3 separate regions of the Homo sapiens genome follow, and regions 2 and 3 are each linked to region 1. The links are contacts of gene promoters, found by promoter capture Hi-C in human tissues and cell types (Jung and others, 2019). All regions are on one chromosome and are shown on one strand. Each heading gives the region's core, a stretch centred on a gene start or on the middle of the fragment in contact. The rest is flanking DNA. Distances are from core to core; before and after follow the strand shown.

Region 1 (3,206 bases), core at 423-2,922:
CCGTGTAACTGCACCCAGGCTGCGAGGCCTGGTGCGGGGCACCGGGAGCACTGTGCTCCGTGTGCGCCCTGCGGCCGGAGGGCGCCGAGGGGCTGGCGCGCCGGACCGGTTATTTAGGGAAGTGCATCGCGACACCTTTGCAGATGGCATGGCCGTGTTTTGCAACGCAAACGGGAGGAAGGGAAGACGGCCGGGTGGAGGGGGAGAGCAAAGGAAGGGGTAAACCAGGTTGGGATGGGAATAAAGCAAACTCCTGAGCAGGGAGCGAGAAGGAAGGAGTGCGTGTCATCGTTGGGAGGAGGCTCCTACCCGGTCTCCCCGCCTCCCGCCCTCGCCACCCCCCTATTCCCTCCCCACCGCAGCCCTTCCCCTTCCCGGGCGAACCACACCGCCGCTGCCCGGTGGTGCGCGGGTCCTGTTTGTGACAGTCAGGCAGACAGGATTATCCGGATCATGGCCTCCCGGGCCCGCAGCCGCCGCCGTGGCTCTCCTGGGTCCCGGCGCGCCCCTAGCACCCGGACGATCGCAGGCGCCCCACGCCCGCAGCTCCCGCGGCGCAAGCAAGGGGAAGACGCGAAGCAAAAGAACACGGACCCGGGGAGAGGGAGGGCAGGGTAACGGAGGCTGGCGGGCACCTCCGACCTCCTTGGGGGCCTCCTCCCTTCCCTCCAGCAGTGCGGCCCGGGCCGGACATCCCGAACTTTAACACCCGAGCCTGCGCTGCCGCCAGGTACCAGAGGCAGGGACGTCCGCAGCGCCCGGGGCGCAGCCCCCTGGCAGCCCCTTTGCCTAAAGGCCTGCCTACCAATCAGCCTCCCCATCCACGCCGGAGGAAACGCGGAAAGTGGAGGTGACACCTCCGATCAGGCACGCACCGGCCCCGCGGCAGTGGCCGCTACCTCCTTCGCGCGTCAGCTCAGGCTTCTCCCGCTGCGATCCGCTCACGTCTCCGCAGCCGGAGCCCTTTGAACAAGTCCCTGGGAAGCGGGTGGCAACAGCGTCCGTTGGCGCCCCGCCGCCAGCCTGGGCTCCCCGCCCTCCTTTCCCGTTCCCCTTCCAACTCTTCCGGGGAGGGTTGCCCGGGATGAACAGTAGCGTTTCCATCCTCCTCCCCTGTCCCCCAGGCCTTCCCCCTCCTGCGGCCACCCCCCTCCCCGCCGCCTCACTTTTAAGGGGATGGGGGGATTGCAACCTGGCCCAATGTGTGTGTTGCAACCTTGAGTTGGCAGCGCCTCTGACTGCCCACTCAGGATCAAGGCTGTGGCTTGTTGGGATTTTTTTCCTCCTTTGCCCCCTTGAAGTAGTAATTATTACTGTTATTATTAGAACAGCAAGGTTCGGTTGAAACTTTCTCGTTTCTTCCACCGCCGCCTGGGAGCTGTCGTTAGAGCATTCCACCTGAGGCCCGCGGGGAGGAGGCGGGCTTTTTTTTGTCGCGGCGGTTGGCCCGCCTGTTTGTTTTGGTCTCCTTGCATGCACAATAAATAATAATTAGGATAATAATGGATAATCCCGGGCGAAGGCGGCGTGGTGCCGGAGGGGTCTGAGCGGCGGCTGCAGCGGGGCGGCCGAAGGGAGGGGAAAGAGGAGAAAAGAGTTGTAAGTTATATTTACCTTGCTCGCGAGGAGTGTGCTGGCTGAATCTCTTCCCTCTCTGAGTCACCCAGAGTACAGAAACAGAGGGAGAGAGGACTAGATTATGAATATGACTTCATTGATGACAGCCGTCCCCTCCTCTTCCTAAACTCGGGCTCCGCCCAGCGTCCCACCCTCGCCTCCTCCGCGGGCGCCGGAAGACGCGCCGCAGTTGGCCCCGCGCGCCGCTCCTCCCTGCCCGTCCGGGCGCGGGTTGGCGGGACGCGCCTGTCACTCGCTCAGCTCAGCGACTCCGGGAGCGCGGGGGGAGGAGGGGGCGGTGTGCAAGAATGTGGATCTAGACAGCTCTACTGTATGCGTGGATCCGTGTGTGACTGCAAGGCGCCGGCTCTCGGGCCGCGTTTGTGCCTGGAGCAGAGAAACTGCGCGGGATGCAGAAAGCCCCAAGCCCTGCTGGAGCTGGGCGCCCGCTGTCCCTTCCCTGGCAGTCCTCTTCCTCGGGCGCCGCGGGGCTCCTCCAGGGAGACTGCGGAAGGGGAGGAGGCGAAGCGAAAACGGAGGGCAGCCGTAGTAATAGCGCGTAGTAGTTCGGGGGTATGTGGAGAAGGTGCTGGAATTTAACTGTGCCTCCGCCTGCCAGTGCGAGCCTGCAGAGAGAGAGGGAGGGGACGGGGGACGGGCTCCGAGTGGCACCAAAGCTGTTTGTGGCACAGTGTGGACTGTGGAAAAAACGGGCATTGTCGTGCCGGCTGAAACTTTTTCTCCCCCTTCCCTAAGGCTGTCATTATAAATCTGCCCCCTATTCCAGGTAAAAAAATAAAAAATAGAAAAGGGAGGCGGGCACAAAGAACGTTCCTGCCAAATCTGTCTCTTCCCTGAAGGACTGCAAGCTTCCAAATGCCAACGAGGGAGAAACAGCTGAGAGGCTGAACGCCTTATAAATAAGTAAACCCACCCTAACCTCTCTGTTTACTTCGTGGACTAGGTACAGCACTATAACCTTCCCTCACCTGCCATCTTCGCTAAAATATATACAAAAATATGGAAAAACAAACCCTGGGGGCGGGGCTGGCGGGTTAGGGGGCGGCTGAAGCATGGAATCTGGTTTTGATTTAAAAAGGGGAATAAATCTCTTATTTTCTACAGACCGTAGTCTCTTCCCTCTCACCCCGCATTTGAGACCAATTAAGGCTGCAAATTGTAATTTGCTGGCAAGTCGCGGTTTTGAGACCTCTTTGCTCCAATTTTCCTTGAAATACAGTACTTTGGCCGGACCAATAGGTCGGTGTTTGGTGAGACAATTTTATTTTTAGTTTTATGAAGTGTGAAAGAATGTTAGGAGACTTTAAATCAGGGGCCTATTATTTTAGACTCAGATTAATGTAGATGCTTGACTCTTAAAACTGTTCCTATGCAGTAGTGTTATGAAAAGTATGATTTATCCCTTATTTCGTAATGTAATGGCTTAAATTAGTCATTCAAAGTGCACTGTGACTATCTGGTTGAGGATTCTTCCCCCTAGAGTAAAATCCTATTTTAAGACCATTTTACTGTTGCAAAATTGACTCCATTTGAGCAACTGGGTCTGAAATGCAGTTCTAGGATGCTTA
Region 2 (3,101 bases), core at 390-2,889, 610 kb before region 1:
GTGTTAAGGGCCTGGGCGGCTTTCAGTCCCAATTCCCTGCAGCTGGCAAGCAAGCCCCTCGGCGTCACATCTGAAGATCACTTCGGGGACGCGCTAGGATTCCGACTGAGTCCTCTCAGAAAGGCTTCCTGTCGCCTGTCCAGGAAAGTTACGAGGCCCCAAGTGGGAACGTGGCTGACGACCAGGCGGGGCCCCCAGGCCCCCGCGGCAGAGTCTGGGGACCCGACAGTAGTCACCGCCGCCCTTCCCAACAAGACAGGGCCACACGCTCGCTCTCGCGCTGCTCCTTTGAGCTATTGTGTAGAATGAAGGCTAATTACAGTCACTAGCCTAGGACTCAATTCCTCTCGAGGAAACGTCACCGGGAAGGAGGGTCAGCAAACTAACCTGATTAAGTCTCCCCTCCACTCCCCCTCCGCGTTCAGCTACACGGGAGACCCGAGCGGTTTCCAAACGCCGCCCGAGGCGGGGAAAAGGGAGAGGAGAAGCGCCCAGAGCAGAGTCCTGCGTAAAGCCCCGCCGCTCCCCTACCCCGCACGCCGGAGAGGCGGCCCCGCGCCGGGGGAGTCGCAGTCCGGGTGCCCTCGGCTCCGCGGAGCCTCCCGGCCGCCGCCCACCGAACGTGCGCCAGCTCGCGGCCGCCGGAAGACTCTGAAGCCCGGCCGGCCCCTGGCGCTCCGCGTCCCCGGAGGCGCTCACCTTCTCCCCCCGTCCGCTCCCGCACTCCCCGGGGTTCGAGGGTGCGCCCGAGGCTGCCGCACACGTCTTGGCCCTCTGCCTCCTTCCCAACACTGCGCCTGGCAGAGGAGGCAGAACCATTGTTCAATGCTCAGAAGCCCACGCACCTCGGCGCCCGTCAAGAGGGCGAGAAACGAGGCGAAGCAGCGGCTCTGGGGGAGGCGGAGTGAGGGGCAGAAGACTAGTTCAGGCGAGGCGTCGGGGCACCCCGAACCCCGCTGTTCCCCAAGCCCGGCTCCCTTTAGCCTCGGCGCTGACAGCTCAGAGGCGCCACCACGGAGGGGAGGGAGGGAAGGCGAGGAGAACCGAGAGGCGCCTCCTAGGAGGCGGGTGGGCAAACGGAGACCTACGCCTCGGGGTCTCCCGGTGCCCCGGCTGGGTCCCGCCCGCCGGCGGAGGGGCGCGTCCTCACTCACCGGTTCCGGTGGCGCCGCTCTCCCGGGGCGCCCAGCACAGCGCGAGCAGCAGCCAGAGCGCCCAGAGCGCGGACGTGCCCATGGTGCCCGCCTGGATGGTGCCGCCGCCGCCGCCGCCGCCGCCGTTCGCTCCGCACGACAAGTTACCAGTCCTTCCGAAAGGAGGAAGAAGGTGGGGGCGGGGAGGGGAAAGGGGGAGAAGGAGGGGAAGGAGTTGGCGGGGGAAGGGAGCGGGGAAGAAGAGGGCACCCCCTCCCCTACAACTTGCACAGTCTCCTCCCCACCCACCCAGCCACCTCCCCGGGCTGCAGCAGCAGTGCAAGCCGAGCCTGCGGGCAGAAAATAATGCAGGCGCTGCAGAGGAGGGGAGGCAAGGGGAGAGGAGGGAAGGGAGAGGGGGTGGGGAGCCGAGAGCAGAAGAGAGCACAGAACGGAGAGGAGCCGGTAGCGGAGCACCCGCACCGGCGGCGGCCGGAGAGCGGGGTGAGCAGCGGGGAGGGGGCCGGAGGGGGCGTGGTCAACGGGAGGCGCGGCGGGCGGGCGGGAGCGCGGCGGCTTCGGCCCTCCTTTCCCTCGACGCGCTCCTCTTGCACGCGCCGGGCAGCCGGGTGCCCGCGCGGGGAGCGTGCGAGTGTGAGCGTGCGTGAGTGACCGCGGTCGTGGTCGTGGCTGCCGCCGCCGCCACCCGGACCGCTCTAGGGGCCCGGCTGCTCCGCGCGTTCGCCTGGGGCTCACGGGGGCCCGGGGCGACCGCTGGTTGGCTCGCGCGCCGCCCTCGCCTCCAATCCCGGGTGCCTGTCCTAATTTCCTGATCCAGGGAACCTGCCGCCGCAGCGGCTGTGCGCTCCCTACAGTCATTACTGTACCCTCCCGGCAGCCTCCGGCAGAACACGCAGCAGCAGCAGCAGTTAGCGCTGATGCAACTATCGTTGCTGTTGCCACCGCCTCCCCACTGACGGGGCGTGCACCTGGGGGGTACTTGCAGTTTCCAGGGGCAACAAGCATCTCTCTACCACCCTCTCCTGCGCCCCTGAGAGAGGCTGGTAGGTAGCATCTTCTTCGGGCCTCCTCTATCCACTCAGAAAGTGATGAAGCGGAGGGGCTCCAAACGTTTGGGCTGCTCAAAAGTGGGGTTTGGGATGCCGGTCTCAATCGCACGCTGAGATGCCGTTTTGCCGAAAACTAAATGTGTCTTTAAGTGAGAGAGTGTGTATGTTTGAAAGAGAGTGCGCGCGGTTGTGGCTGGTCCTCTGTAATAGAACAAGACTGAAATAACCCAGCCTGGGATGAGGAGAAGGGAAATTGCTAGCGCAGCTTTGCATTTGCTCATCAACGATTATAGTTAATTGCTAATTGCACAAAATGATAGTTTGAGGGCCTGTAATTAAAAGCTTAACCTTTTCTTGTTTGGAAGAGAGGGGCCCCATACGTTTATTCCTCTTGATATACTTTGTAACATTCAATTACAAGAATCGAGGAAAGAATAAAGGAAGCAAAGACAAGACTCCTAGAAAGGGTTGGTTCTTCTTTTGTGCCTGACAGTACCTGAGTCTATAATTTGCTTTTTGTGTACTTCAGTTTTCTTGCACACTTAGCCCTGGTTGAGGTGCATTGTCTGCTGTGGTCTGTTGAGCATCTAACCAGAGTGGGAGGGCACATCGAGCGATTTCACTTTCTTAAATAAAAGGTTTTTGGTATTTTGAAAAAGTTGTTTTTATCTTAATTCAAACTTGGAAGGTTTCAATAATATCATATTCTGACTCTATTCTGTTGGTGATCTGAAGAGCAGCGGGCACTGCCTCACTGTCTTCTCCTTGCCCTGGTTCTCCTGGAAATTTGTCAAGGCTAGCAATCAGAGGAGATGTTTATTAGGAACTTACTATATCCAGGAGACACACAGGAGAGGAAAATTCCAGTCAGGATAGGTTTCTGTGGGCCAAAGATATC
Region 3 (3,104 bases), core at 287-2,786, 630 kb before region 1:
TTTATTCATTAATCCTAACTTACTAGCCCAACTTAAAGGCTACAATGGAGTTAAATCAAGAACTTTTGTACAGTCTCATTGTACAAAAAATGAAGGCACACAATAAATAAGAAGAACAGAAATAAAGAACCAAGAAAATAGTTGAAGACTGGAAATTAATTTGAGATGAGAACCACAATTGATTCTAAAAGTGGCCATCATAAATAACAAACTGTAACAAGGGATTTCAATTTGGAAGGCAGAGATTGAGTTGTCCTTGAATCAACATACTGCTTGTCAGATCTTATCACTAGTTGAGAATATCATGCAACGTAATACTCACAACAAGCATTAAGACTTTGTCACCAAAAGAGGTGAACCACATACCACCATATATGGTTCCTCTTTTTGGTCCTTTAAATAAGGATCAGGAATAACAAGTCTTAAACACTTTCCATTTTGAAAAAGTCACTGCCAGGGCTATAATCACCATTTAACAATCAGGTATGCTGACAATGATAAGCTAGTCCTACTAGCCAATTGGTACTTTGACTTAAATTCCTGCCAAATGTTTCAAGGTCACAATTTGGTGGCAATTAGAATAGAGACCACGACTCTCTTGGGAAGCAAAGTCTAGATTTATAAGGGAAACACTTGGCAGCACCAGGGCTTACCAATACAGAAAACCCAATTCTAGGATTGAACACTAAAACTCATTGGACTAGGTGCAGTGGTATTGACCTCAGGAGGCGACTTCTACACACAAGACTGGTGTTTCAACTGTAAGTGCCCTGAGCTCCCTTGACTACTACCATATCAGGAGGCCCATGCTTGTCAGACTTGGGAGCTGTAGGTTTTAGAGGCCCTATAAAAAGGGCAGTAGCTTGAAAGAACATTCAAAGCACTGTTTGTTCAACCTAGTGATTTTCCCAGGCCCTCACCTTCAACATGCAGCATTTTATTAAAGATTTTCCAAGACCAGAAACATGAAAGAATAGGAAGCAGAGTTAGCTTTCAGAGACAGGAACTGCAACAGGAGACAAAGGTATCACCAGTTGGGTAGACTTTTCTTTGGGTATCTGAGGCAAGATGTTAATTCATGCTTCTGTGTCTTTTTTTTTTTTTTTTCTGGGAAAGTTATGCCAGAATCTAGTTCATGGGCAAAGAAATGCTTGTATAATACTCAAATAATTTATTCCAATAACCCAATCAAATTTAGACCTATGAATGTGTTTGCCAACCCTACTCACCTTCTAATTTTATTGTGCCAAAGTGCAAAAGACACATGAATTACTGTCAAAACAAAAGCCCACACAATTGCTGCTTCCCTGAGCTACTTCTATATATAAGTGCCTTGAATGACTTACCTTCTTATTTCTATTTGCCTAAAAGAAACACCAAGCGATGGTCAATTGCCACATGAATGTCTTTTAGGGTTTTAGGGCAGTTATGAAGGACAAGTAATTGAGCAGATAGTGAAGTCACTGAAAAGTGAGTCAATGTCAGTGCGTCTTCAGGCTTAGATTAGTTTCCCCTGCCCACCCTTCCTTTAGGAAAAGGGTCTTTGGGTTACGTCACTCAACACTGATCTTCTTACCACAGTTTTCTTCATCTTCTCCACTGTCACAATCATTTTCACCATCACATCTCCAGGACACTGGGATACACTGAGTAGAATGGGCGCCACAGCTGATTTCATGTATGCGGCATGTTCTCATATCTGTTGATGATATACAGTCTCAAAAGAGCCTCAGAACTGATCAATGCAAAGCTGCTGCTCCTGTGCTGCCTGGAAGCGCTAATACCTGTGACTCAGTAGCCTGGCACACTGGTGAAATTCTACTAACTGGCTGAAGCCCGGGGAGCTCTTTCATCAGCTCCACTCCTTAGAAGCTGTGCCAACCTATGCTACCTGGCAGTGTACGTGACAGCTTTGACCACGTCACTCCTTCAAGGTCCCATGGCGTGCTCAGTTCTGGCTTTTGTTTTACTTGGCGTGGTGAAGTTTATTGGCTGGCCTGCTCCTAGACCACTATTTATCTGTTGGATGTCAAGTGGGCACACCTAGATATTGTCATCTAATCTCAAATACATGAAAAGTCAGATGGTCAAACACCTACAAAATCTTCTATTGCCTAGATTCCTTTATGGGCCTCCTTCACAATGTCCTTTAGATTGACATCTTGCAAAGTAGAAGCATGCCCTAATGCTTGACTTGACCAGGTCATTCTCCACTAAAAGTTGAGGCTGAATCTTTACACAACCTGTCTTTAGCTCACAGGCCTTGAACTCACTTGCCTTGACCAATATTACTCCCCTCACTTCTTATCTAGAAAATTGAAAGTAACAGCCTTATCTTCCTTTCTATTTGATTTTCTTTCATAATCACACTTTAGACCTAAACTGTGTTCATGTTAGTCCTTTTTTAGTGTTTCTACCAGTGCAGGCCTCTACTGACTCAAACTCTAAGACTTTCTTTGCCTTGACATTCGTGTGATCTCAATTTATATGATCCCAAACCATCATTCTTTATGGTCTCATAGACTTTTTCCTAAGGACACAGGTATATACTTGCATACCTATGAAGTTTCTCTTATTTAAGAATATGCTGTAAGATCTCCATTTTAGTAACTTGAGGTTACATGTGTGTCAGGAGTCACTATATCACCCAATTACTAGCTACCTTACCTCTTCAGTAATAGCTTTTTAATAGTATGATAAGCTGTGCTTCTAAAAGCTTTTGCTTGGCCCATAGGGAACCCTCACTTCTTGACTTAGCTTCCAGGACCAGAGTACCATCTGCTCAGTTATTATAAACAGACATTTGAAATCTATGCACCTAGTCAAGGAGTTCTTGATTGAATCTGCTGACTTCAGTTTTAAGTATTCAATAGTGAAGCTACCCAAGAGAATGTCAGTCTTGTTGGACCAGGGAGAACATTCTTTAAAGGAGGCTGATAAACTGGTAATGATTTGACTGCCCTTGGAGTCAATTGACCTAAACTTTAAGGCAGGCAAAGAAAAATGAATACCAAGTAGGAGATTAAGCAATACTTAGAAATGTTAGACACCGAACAACTTGGCAAAGTTCAAGGCCAAAGCAAGTTACACTCACGGCACTGTTC

What was found. The method cuts DNA at HindIII sites, captures the fragments that hold promoters and counts their contacts. A contact is called where the count stands out against the background at its distance.
Region 2: the fragment with the promoter of VLDLR here is called in contact with the fragment with the promoter of SMARCA2 in region 1 in 1 of the 25 tissues and cell types used here (hippocampus).
Region 3: a fragment that was not itself captured here is called in contact with the fragment with the promoter of SMARCA2 in region 1 in 1 of the 25 tissues and cell types used here (dorsolateral prefrontal cortex).

The regions. Positions count from the first base shown.
Region 1 is chr9:2,013,813-2,017,018 of GRCh38, reverse strand. It overlaps SMARCA2 (SWI/SNF related BAF chromatin remodeling complex subunit ATPase 2), which reads right to left and starts at 1,672. Exons shown (of 34, transcript NM_003070.5): 1 at 1,615-1,672. RefSeq lists silencers at 1-12, 313-482, 1,623-1,962 and enhancers at 670-1,226, 2,013-2,062, 2,123-2,172. The HindIII fragment of the contact is 11,281 bases long and covers 1-3,206 here.
Region 2 is chr9:2,620,325-2,623,425 of GRCh38, reverse strand. It overlaps VLDLR (very low density lipoprotein receptor), which reads right to left and starts at 1,639. Exons shown (of 19, transcript NM_003383.5): 1 at 1,155-1,639. The coding sequence starts at 1,236. It overlaps VLDLR-AS1 (VLDLR antisense RNA 1), which reads left to right and starts at 1,053. Exons shown (of 4, transcript NR_015375.2): 1 at 1,053-1,326. RefSeq lists silencers at 505-594, 605-694, 965-1,234, 1,845-1,924 and an enhancer at 1,803-2,097. The HindIII fragment of the contact is 11,914 bases long and covers 1-3,101 here.
Region 3 is chr9:2,639,972-2,643,075 of GRCh38, reverse strand. VLDLR (very low density lipoprotein receptor) reads right to left here. Exons shown (of 19, transcript NM_003383.5): 3 at 3,095-3,104; 4 at 1,577-1,699. Among named protein-coding and RNA genes, the nearest start is that of VLDLR-AS1, 19 kb to the right of the region's middle. The HindIII fragment of the contact is 4,170 bases long and covers 1-3,104 here.